Linked DNA regions of Homo sapiens: region 1 is linked to region 2. The links are contacts of gene promoters, found by promoter capture Hi-C in blood cells and fetal thymus (Javierre and others, 2016). All regions are on one chromosome and are shown on one strand. The core of a region is centred on a gene start or on the middle of the fragment in contact, and the rest is flanking DNA. Distances in the headings are between cores, read along the strand shown.

The links. Contacts are between HindIII fragments. The CHiCAGO score rates a contact against its expected background, and 5 or more counts as called.
Region 1: a contact is called between a fragment that was not itself captured here and the fragment with the promoter of PCDHB15 in region 2, in 1 of 17 cell types (M1 macrophages). The highest score is 5.6, in M1 macrophages.

Annotation. Positions count from the first base shown.
Region 1 is chr5:141,342,677-141,347,408 of GRCh38, reverse strand. The region is part of intron 1 of PCDHGA1 (protocadherin gamma subfamily A, 1); the gene reads right to left. All of the region lies in intron 1 of PCDHGA2 (protocadherin gamma subfamily A, 2), which reads right to left. PCDHGA3 (protocadherin gamma subfamily A, 3) reads right to left here and starts at 3,580. Exons shown (of 4, transcript NM_018916.4): 1 at 952-3,580. The coding sequence starts at 3,375. It also overlaps PCDHG@. The HindIII fragment of the contact is 1,971 bases long and covers 894-2,864 here.
Region 2 is chr5:141,242,195-141,247,215 of GRCh38, reverse strand. PCDHB15 (protocadherin beta 15) reads right to left here and starts at 1,821. Exons shown (of 1, transcript NM_018935.4): 1 at 1-1,821. The coding sequence starts at 1,637. It also overlaps PCDHB@ and the pseudogene PCDHB19P. The HindIII fragment of the contact is 5,789 bases long and covers 1-4,614 here.

The DNA.
Region 1 (4,732 bases), core at 630-3,129, 100 kb before region 2:
CTGACGTGGGCAGATCACTTGAGCTCAGGAATTTCAGACCAGCCTGGGAAACATAGCAATTGCCCCATCTCTACAAAAACAAAAACAAATTAGCTGGGAGGGTGGCTCGTGCCTGTAGTCCCAGCTACTCGGGAGGCTGAGGTGGGAGGATCACTTGAGTCTGCGAGGTCAAGGCTGCAGTGAGCCGTGATCATGCCACTGCACTCCAGACAGAGTAAGACCCTGTCAAGAAAGAAAGAAAGAAAGAAAGAAAGAAAGAAAGAAAGAAAGAGAGAAACAGAGGAAGGAAGGAAGGAGGAAAGAGAGAGAGGAAGGAAGGAAGGAGGAAAGAGAGAGAGGAAGGAAGGAAGGAAGGAGGAAAGAGAGAGAGGAAGGAAGGAAGGAGGAAAGAGAGAGGAAGGAAGGAAGGAGAAAGAAAAAAAGAGTGTCACCTGTCTTGGAAGGAGTCAAACATCATTTAATTTCATGGGCATAAAATATCTTTTATTCATATGTATTTTTACTTGTATGTATCAGGATAAGCTATACAGGTTGGAATGACAAACTCCAAAGCACAGGGATTTAAAATGAAAAAGGCCTATTTATCACAGGTATACAAACCAGTGTTGTGTTTCTCTCATCATAGTTACTCAAGGACCCAGGTAGAAGGAGCAGTCACAATTTCAAATAGTAACTTAGAGATCTGAAAATTCTCACAGTGGCAGATTCCTCTAGGAAGTGACACTTTACTTTCACTCACGATGTATTATTTTTTCCCTAAGCCCACTCAACCATAACCAGACCGGGGAGTGCAGTCCTACTATAGGCCCAGAAAGAAAGGGGGACAAATATTTAGTCAAAGGACTAATGACAACCTCATGGCTTTATTTCTCAAATACATATGTGTTAAAGCTTTATAATAACCACATTCTCATATTTGTTCTTAATAATCAAAGAAATAAATAAACTCACCTGAAGTAGGTTGGAATCTCCTTTCATTTCAAGTAAATCCTGAGTTATCAGAAGAGGCTCGCTTTTCTCACAGCTCTCCTGGCTGATGAGCGTGTCCGCATAGTTGGGCTGGGGGAAAATCAGGTGGCTCTTCCGCGAGTCCGCAGTGAGGGAGACCTCGTGGGAATAGGTCTGCAGGAAAGCCCGAACCCCGTCCGCGCCCACAAAGTGCGAGCCGGGCGTACTCGCCAAGCCGCCTCCCGAAGCCTGCAGCAGGCGTGACTTGTGCCAGCGCCGCAGCCTGAGCGCCAGCAGCACGATGACGAAGGCCAGGAAGACGCAGGAGACCGCGGCCACCGCCACCACCAGGTACAGAGTGAGGTCCGAATCGTTGGGTTTGGCGGAGGGCTCGAGGCTGCCCAGGTCGGCCAGGATGTCGGGGATCCTGTCGGCCACGGCCACGGTGAGCGTGACAGTGGCGGAGAGAGGGGGCTGGCCGTGGTCCTGGACGGCCACCACGAGGCTCTGCTTGAGCGCGTCTCTGTCCAGCAGGGCTCGCGCCGTGCGCACCTCGCCCGTGTGCAGACCCACCGAGAAGAGTCCCGGCTCGCTGGCCTTGAGCAGGCGGTAGGACAGCCAGGCGTTCTGGCCCGAGTCTCTGTCCACCGCCACCACCTTGGTCACCAGGTAGCCGGGCTCTGCGGAGCGAGGCGCCAGCTCCACGCCAGTGGAACCGTCTGTGGGGAGGGCGGGGTACAGGATCTCGGGCGCGTTGTCGTTCTGGTCCAGCACGAACAGGTTCAGCGACACGTTGCTGCTGAGTGGAGGGTTCCCGCTGTCGCTGGCTGTCACCAGTAGCTTTAAGTCTCTAAATTGCTCGTAGTCGAAGGATCTCAGCGCGTATAGGACGCCAGTGTTGGAGTTGATAGAGACGAAGGAGGACAGGGGCGCCCCCTGGAGAGTGTCCTCGGTCAATGCATAAGTGATGCGGGCGTTGTTGTTGCTATCTGGGTCCTGGGCTGTCACTGAGAAGATGGAGGCTCCTCTGGGGTTGTTTTCTGGAATGTAGGCGGAGTAGGATAAATGAGGGAAGGTGGGTGGGTTGTCATTGATGTCAATCACATGCAGGGTGATGTGAGTTTCTGTGGACAGTGGCGGGCTTCCCCCATCTGAGGCTCTCAGACTAATGTTATATTCTGATATTTGTTCGCGGTCCAGGGATGTGGCCGTCACTAAGCGGTAATATTGATCTATTGATTTTTCTAACTTAAATGGCAGATTTCCCAGGACAAAAACTTCAACCTGCCCATTCTGCCCAGAATCTCGGTCATGCACGTCGATAAGAGCAATTTCTCTTCCAACGGTGCCCTCTTCTGGGACTGAGCTTGTGAGAGACGTGATTGTAATTTCTGGAGCATTGTCATTCACATCCAGAACCGTGACTAGAATCTTGGCTCTTGAAAGAAGACCTGGTCCATCCTGTGCTTCAATTTTAATTTCATAGAACATGGCATCCTCATAATCTAGACTTTTTAATATTGATACTTCTCCACTCACTGAGTTAAGATGGAAAATCTCAGCGATTTTCCCAGGCATTTTATCTAGAATATAAGACACTTGAGCATTGAATCCCTCGTCAGGGTCAGTGGCATTCACCGTGAGCAGCCGGGTACCCACAGGCACGTTCTCCCAAACACTCACACGGTACTCAGGCTGAGTAAACATTGGTGGGTTGTCATTTGCATCCAGGACTATCACTTGGATGTGCAAGTTGCCAGAGTGGACAGGGTCGCCACCATCAGAGGCAACCAGGACAAGCTGGTGAATTTCTTTTTTCTCACGGTCCAGGGCCCGCTCCAGCACCAGCTCTGGATACTTGGCCCCCTCAGAGACGCTATTCACAGCCAGAGAGAAGTAGTCATTGGGGCTAAGCTTGTAGTTCTGCAGGGAGTTAATGCCTACATCTGGGTCAAAAGCAGTTTTAATTGGAAATCGGGTTCCAGGAACCGTTAGTTCACCAATTTTTATTTCCAATTCCTCTGTTGGGAAATTAGGAGCATTATCATTAATATCTTTAATTTCTATTTCTACTTCAAAAATTTTCAATTTATCCTCAACCAGAATGTTAATTTTTACCAGACACAGCGGGATCTGAGCGCAGAGCTCCTCCCGGTCTATCCTCTCCGCGGTGACCAAGCTGCCGCTTTGCGGATTCAGAGAGAAAAGCTGCGTCCTACCTCTGGAGACGATGCGGACTCCGCGCTCCGCCAGCTCCCGGGGCTCTAGCCCCAGGTCGTTAGCGATGTTGCCCACGAAGGAACCTTTATCTAGCTCCTCAGACACCGAGTAGCGGATCTGACCGGATCCTGTTTCGCACAGCGTCCCCAGGAGCGCGCACAGCAGGGCCAGTCCTCTGCCATTTCGGAAACTCAGGCAATTGGTCATTTCCTTTTCGGTGAATCGCTTTCTCTGAATTCGGTTCCAGTTTCCTACGACGGACTCCAATCTTATTTTCTCAAGAAACGAAGTCTTTTACGGGCCTAATTCACAGGTCAAACAGCTGGTTGACTAAGAGGTGAGGTTGGCAGCCGCCCCGGATCTTCTGAGTCTGATTTGCTGGTTCTTTGCATTTTAGGAGCAAGGAAATGGTGGACTAGTTCTCCAGCTGCGTTCTCCTTCTTGAGTGGTCAACAGCGACACTAAGAGGCCTAACCGTTTACTGCATCCTCTCAGACACATTATTATTTTTGAATTATCCAAGATCTGAAATCCTTCTTGTCAGAGATAAGAGGACTAGTGTTGATTGAACATAATTGAATCGATATATGTTAAACAGTGTCACCTCAAGTTATCTTTCTTGGGAATCCATGCACTAACCTTAATGCCACCAATATTGCTTCAAACATAGTGGAGTTAACTTTTTTGAATTGTTCAGTTTAAGAAACACACAGTAACAAAGAACTGGCCGTAAGGACCAACACAACTATTAAAAGACATGACCACCACTTGTTCTTCCACCACTGAACCTTGATAATGTGTTTATTCTTATACTTACTACATTTATCAGGGTTATTTGATAAGATATCCACCTCCTCTTTGACCTTTCCCTCTCTATACTCTTAACTCTCTAAGAGCTGAGACAAGGAAAAAAAGAAAAGAAACACACAGAAATCAGCCATATTTATACATTATATTTCTTTAAGTTTGTTCTTGGTGACCTGATAACTTAGTTTCGATATTTGTTGTTATTTAATATTCATTAAACAAACACATAATTAGGCATCAGACAATATGTTTGGGGATTTAAGGTGAACAATATAGACACAGTAGCTTCCTTCACAGAGATTATAAGGATATAAAAGCAAACAGGGAATTGCAGTGTACTGAGATAATTACCATAATGGGAGAAGCCAAGGGGGTTAGGGGGGCCTTCAATTGGGCCTTTAATGTTAGCAAACGCTTTCCCAGGAAACATGAGAGGAGTGGATCAGTGAAAAGGCCTGGATGTGGGAGAGAACAGCATGACAATGCCTAGGTGTGAGAGAGAAATCACAGACCTTCAGGGTACTGAAAGAAGTTTCCTTTGTTTAAATCTAGACTGTAAGGATGTTTTTTCAAAACCAACTGAAACTAGTAGAAATAAGCTTTTATGTTCCAGAATCTCTTTCCCCATAAGTTTCCAAGCACAGAAATATAAATACAATATATTTGTCGTTTCAATCATGATGCATTACATATCTATGCATAAGACATTTATTCTTGTGGAGTTACTACACACACTAAAAATAACTTTGCTTTAATT
Region 2 (5,021 bases), core at 572-3,071:
AGCGCCTCGCTGCTCAGCGCCGGGAAGCCGCGGTCTGTGGCGCCCACGCGGAACTCGAAAGCCTGCAGGGCCTCGTAGTCCAGCGACTGGAGAGCGAACAGGTGGCCGTTGTCCGTGTTAATGGAGACCAGGGAGGTGAGGGGCAGGTGCGGGTCCCGGGGCGGCAGCAGCGAGTAGGTGACCTGGGCGTTGGTGCCCGAGTCTCTGTCTGTGGCGCTGACACTGCCGATGTGCAGGGCGGGGCTGTTGTTCTCGCGGACGAACAGGGTGTAGGAGGTTTGGGTGAAGGCGGGGGCGTTGTCATTGACGTCCGACACCAGCACGGTTATGCTCTGCTCGGTTTTCAGCCTTGGAGTCCCCAAGTCTGTGATGGTGATGGTGATGTTGTACTCGGCTCTGGTCTCTCTGTCCAGCGCCCCTTCTGTTACCAGCCTGTAGAAATTCTCAACAGAAGGTTTTAGCTTAAAAGGAACATCATCCTGAATTGAGCAAATCATTTTTCCATTTTCCCCAGAGTCTCGGTCTCTAATCCTAAACAGGGCCACTTCTGTCTCTGGAGAATTCTCGGGAATAGGGCTGGTAAGTGATGAAATACTTAGTTCCGGGAAGTTATCGTTAACATCCAGCACCTTAACAGAGACAGAGCATTTTCCAGAAAGTCCCCCGCCATCAGATGCCTCTATATCTAGATCATACGAAGACATTGTCTCAAAATCTAGTTTTTTAATTAGTCGAATTTCTCCTGAAAGGCTGCTTAGCTCAAAAGGTTTGTCTATCTCCTGAGAGCTGTAATAAAGGGAGTATGATATCTCTCCATTTGTCCCAGTGTCTAAATCCCTAGCAGAGACCTTGACAACTAGGGAGCCTACTGGGCTGTTCTCTGGGACCTGCACCTCGTAGAGCGCCTGCACAAACTCCGGGGCATTGTCATTGGCGTCCAAGACCAAGATGAGGATCTGGACGGTGCCAGATCGGGGTGGAGAGCCACCGTCCACCGCTGTCAAGGTTAATCTGAGCTCGGCCTGCTCCTCGCGATCCAGTTCTGTGTCCAGCACCAGCTCTGGGTATTTCCTGCCATCCCCTCGGGTGCGAGTGGAAACATGGAAATGAGAATTGGGAGAAATATTGTAGTTTTGAACATTATTGCTGCCCACGTCCAAGTCCCGAGCTTTTTTCAGAGGAAACACAGTCCCAAGGGAGCTAGTTTCTGGGATTTTCAGGGTCATTTCTCTTTCAGGAAACTCAGGAGAATGATCGTTTATGTCTGTCACTAGTAGTTCAGCTCGAAATACTTCCAAAGGTTTTTTCAGTAACACTTGGAAATGCATTATACAGGGCTCAGTAGGGCCACACAGCTTCTCCCGGTCCAGCTTCTCATTTAATATCAACTGCCCGGTCTGCAGATCAAGCTGCAAGCCTTGTTCGTTATCCTCAGAAACTACCCGGGCTCCCCGCTCGGCTAGCTCCCCCACTCCCAGCCCTAGGTCATTGGCCAGGTTGGCTACAAAAGAACCTCTCTCTGTTTCCTCCATCACAGAATAGCGACGGGGTTCCCAGCCTGCCAGAGTCACTTCCAGTAAAAGAAGGAGAATCAGGACTTGCCTTTGTTCGGGAAAGCGCTCCCCTGCAGGCTCCATCTTTACTTCTGTACACGCCCCTTTCAAGGAACCGGAGTCAGAGCTACTTCAGGGAGCGATGGGACAGAGGCAGTGATCGATCTGTGCGTTGATAACCTGTTCGGAAATGTAGGAGAATAGCATTCTCCGGAGACACTGGTCCGTGCTCTGCTAACAGGCTTTCCTCTTAGGCTGAAAGAGGTCTGAAGTAGCTAGTAGCATTTCATGGGCTTTTTCCTTTTCCTTTTTTTGAAGCCTTAGCCTGCAGCGCCACCATGCGTTGTCTTTGCTTCGAAACGAATTGCTACAATTGATCTATTCTCTATTCTATTAGGAGTTTGGAAATTGGGAGGAAATGATGTAATCACAATATCACGCAATGGTAATTATTAATTTCTTCATTTAAAGGAGTATTATTGGTCTCTATGTGCCAAATTATGAAATACATCAGTAAACAACCCAGACATGGTCCCCACCCTCCAGAGCCTGTAGTCTGGGTGTAGTGTTCTGAGGGAAATTGAGAAGTGAAAGAAGACATAATAGTGATCAGTCATCTTGTAATAATAATAACATAAAGCCACGTGATTTCTTAAAAATTTATCAGCAAAACAAAATGAATTCTTTAATTTCTTTCAAATTCTAGACAGCCTATGTACCAGAATTGTGCTCCCATTGGTTGGATTACATCAAGAAAAAGCTACACGTTAATTCCAGTGTGGTATCCTTTCTACATAAAGTCAGAGAGTTATGATTTTATGAAAATTTTAAACTGTGGAAAAATACATATGAAGGCACTTCCTATATCTCTTACTTTGCTTTTTCTTTTTTTTCTTTTCATTTTTCCTTTTTTTTTTTTTGAGATGGGGTCTTGCTCTGTTGTCCAGGAGGGAGTGCAGTGGCACAATCACTGCTCATTGCAGCCTTGACTACCCAGGCTCAAGCAATCCCCCCACCTCAGCAACTGTAGCTGGGACCACAGTTGCGCATCACCATGCCTGGCTAATGTTTTAATTATTTGTAAAGATGAGGTCTTGCTATGTTGCCCGGGCTGGTCTCAAATTTCCGAGCTCAAGCAATCCTCCTGCCTCAGCCTCCCAAAGTGCTGGGGTTATAGGCATGAGCTGCTGTACCCAGCCCTGCCTTGTCTCTCTCGTATTTATTATCTGACGTAGTATAGATGTACTTATTTAGTTGTTTCCTTTCTGTTTCAACCTCACATGTTAGAACTTCATTTTGTTCACTGCTGCATCCCCAATATCTAAAATAATCCCTGGCACATGGTACGTGCTCAATAAATATTTGTTAAATGGATCCATTAATAAATCACAATTAATTTAAACATTCTGACAGATAGGTTCTCCTCCTACTGTAGAAATTCCCTCTTCTTCTGGGATTCAAGTTCATTATATAAGATGGATAAACAAAGACAACATGTTCATAAGGTAGCTATTTCCTATGCCCTTTAAATAGTAATGTGAAATAACTCAGAATGACCTAAAATGTCATTTCATTAAGTGGCAAAACAACTTAGCTACCCATAAGCAAGGGATATATTATATGACAGAAAGAAAGAACATAACAAGATTATGATGACCCTAAAGATAAGGATTATGTCTCTTTTAGACACACATTTTTCATTGTCAAGGTTTTTTTTTTACAGTAATGTTATTATGACACTTACGATATTCAAAACTCTTATATAATAAAATGTTCTAAGAATTTCTATTAAACACTTCAAAGACTGTACCATTGGAAAGATCCTTCAGTTTTTCTCAAAATTGTATATTCTGACAAAAGCTAGTGCATGTCCCTTATAGACTACTAATATTTTACAACCTCCTTGATCCCAAATGTTGTCATACTAATATGAAAAGCCACAATAAAAACCCAATAGGAAGAAAGGTCTAACTTACCAACAATGCAGGAATATCTAAACATGCTTTTGACAACAAAAACCTCACTTAGATCTCTTAATTAGAGGGAAATTTATTAAAGAGCACAAATTTGTCTCCAGCAACCTAAGGGAAAAAGACTTGGGAGGGACTGGAAAATCTAAAACAGGAAAATCTATGACAAGGTCATTCTTTTGGTACCTTATTTTTTCTTGTCTCTCAATAGATTGATGTTCTGTATTTCTTTGCAAGTGTTTAGCCAAATATGACACCACTTTCTGCTTATGTTCCTAACAAAGAGACTATGTTGTATCTGGTTCTTAAAGCCATTTTTTTTTAAACAGAGAGAATCAGATTAGGCCAGCTAGGATCATCTTATTTTTGTGTTTGAAATCACAGAGGGAGGTGGGTCATATAAAATAAATGTGGCTGCAACATTACACTTCAGCCAAAGACAGGGAGAATTTTCCAGAAAAAGATCAGGTGGGCTAGATAGACGCTACAAAAGGGAGCTATGATTTTAAAATCTTGAGATAATCTAATAATCACTAAAGATGCTCGTATGGCCGGGCAAGGTGGCTCACACCTGTAATGCCACACTTTGGGAGGCAGAGGCGAGTGTATCACCTGAGGTCAGGAGTTTGAGACCAGCCAAACTCCTGACCTCAGGAGCCAGTTTGAGTTTGGCCAACATGGTGAAACCCTATCTCTACTAAAACAAGGAGCCTGTAATCCCAGCTACTCGGGAGGCTGAGGCAGGAGAATCGCTTGAACCGGGGAGGCGAGGTTGCAGTGAGCCCAGATCGCGCCATTGCACTCCAGCCTGGGCGACAAGAGTGAAACTCTGACTCAATAATAGTAATAATAATGCTCATATATGTTATGGAGTGAAGGTTATAAAAAGAGCAGAAAAGTCTTTAAGTTTGGGGAAAAATGTAGTCTTTCCCACTTCAAGCTATTGTGAAATAAAACGATGCAATTTTTGCAGACGCTTCTCCATTTAAAAATTCAAGACAGGTAAGCATAAGACAGAATCAATAGAATATGTACTAATAATCACTATATCATCGTTCCTGTCTTCTAAGCATCAAAAGTTTAGAAAAGCTTTCTTTAATGAAACGGAATGGAGCTGGAGTCTTCAAGTCAACAGCCTGTGATTTTGAAAAGTTGATAAATTGAACAAATATTACTTTTCATTAATGAGTAAACCTGAAAGTTGTATTCATCAAAATGGACATGATAAAAGGAGACCAAGTATGAACAAATAATCAAAGAAAATGTCTAATCTTAAGTAGGAAAATGAAATCAGCAAAAATCTTAGAAAATCCATATAGCACAAAAAACATAACAGAGACTTAATATATTGATAAAGGACTAACCTTTATCCTAAATGCTCTGAAAAATCTACAGATTCTTAATTGAATCCAAAACCATTTACAAAGTTGGACTTTTCCTCCCATCATTCACAGCGCCCGGATGCTTAGGGATAACAGACTTCAGGAATTTGAATTCA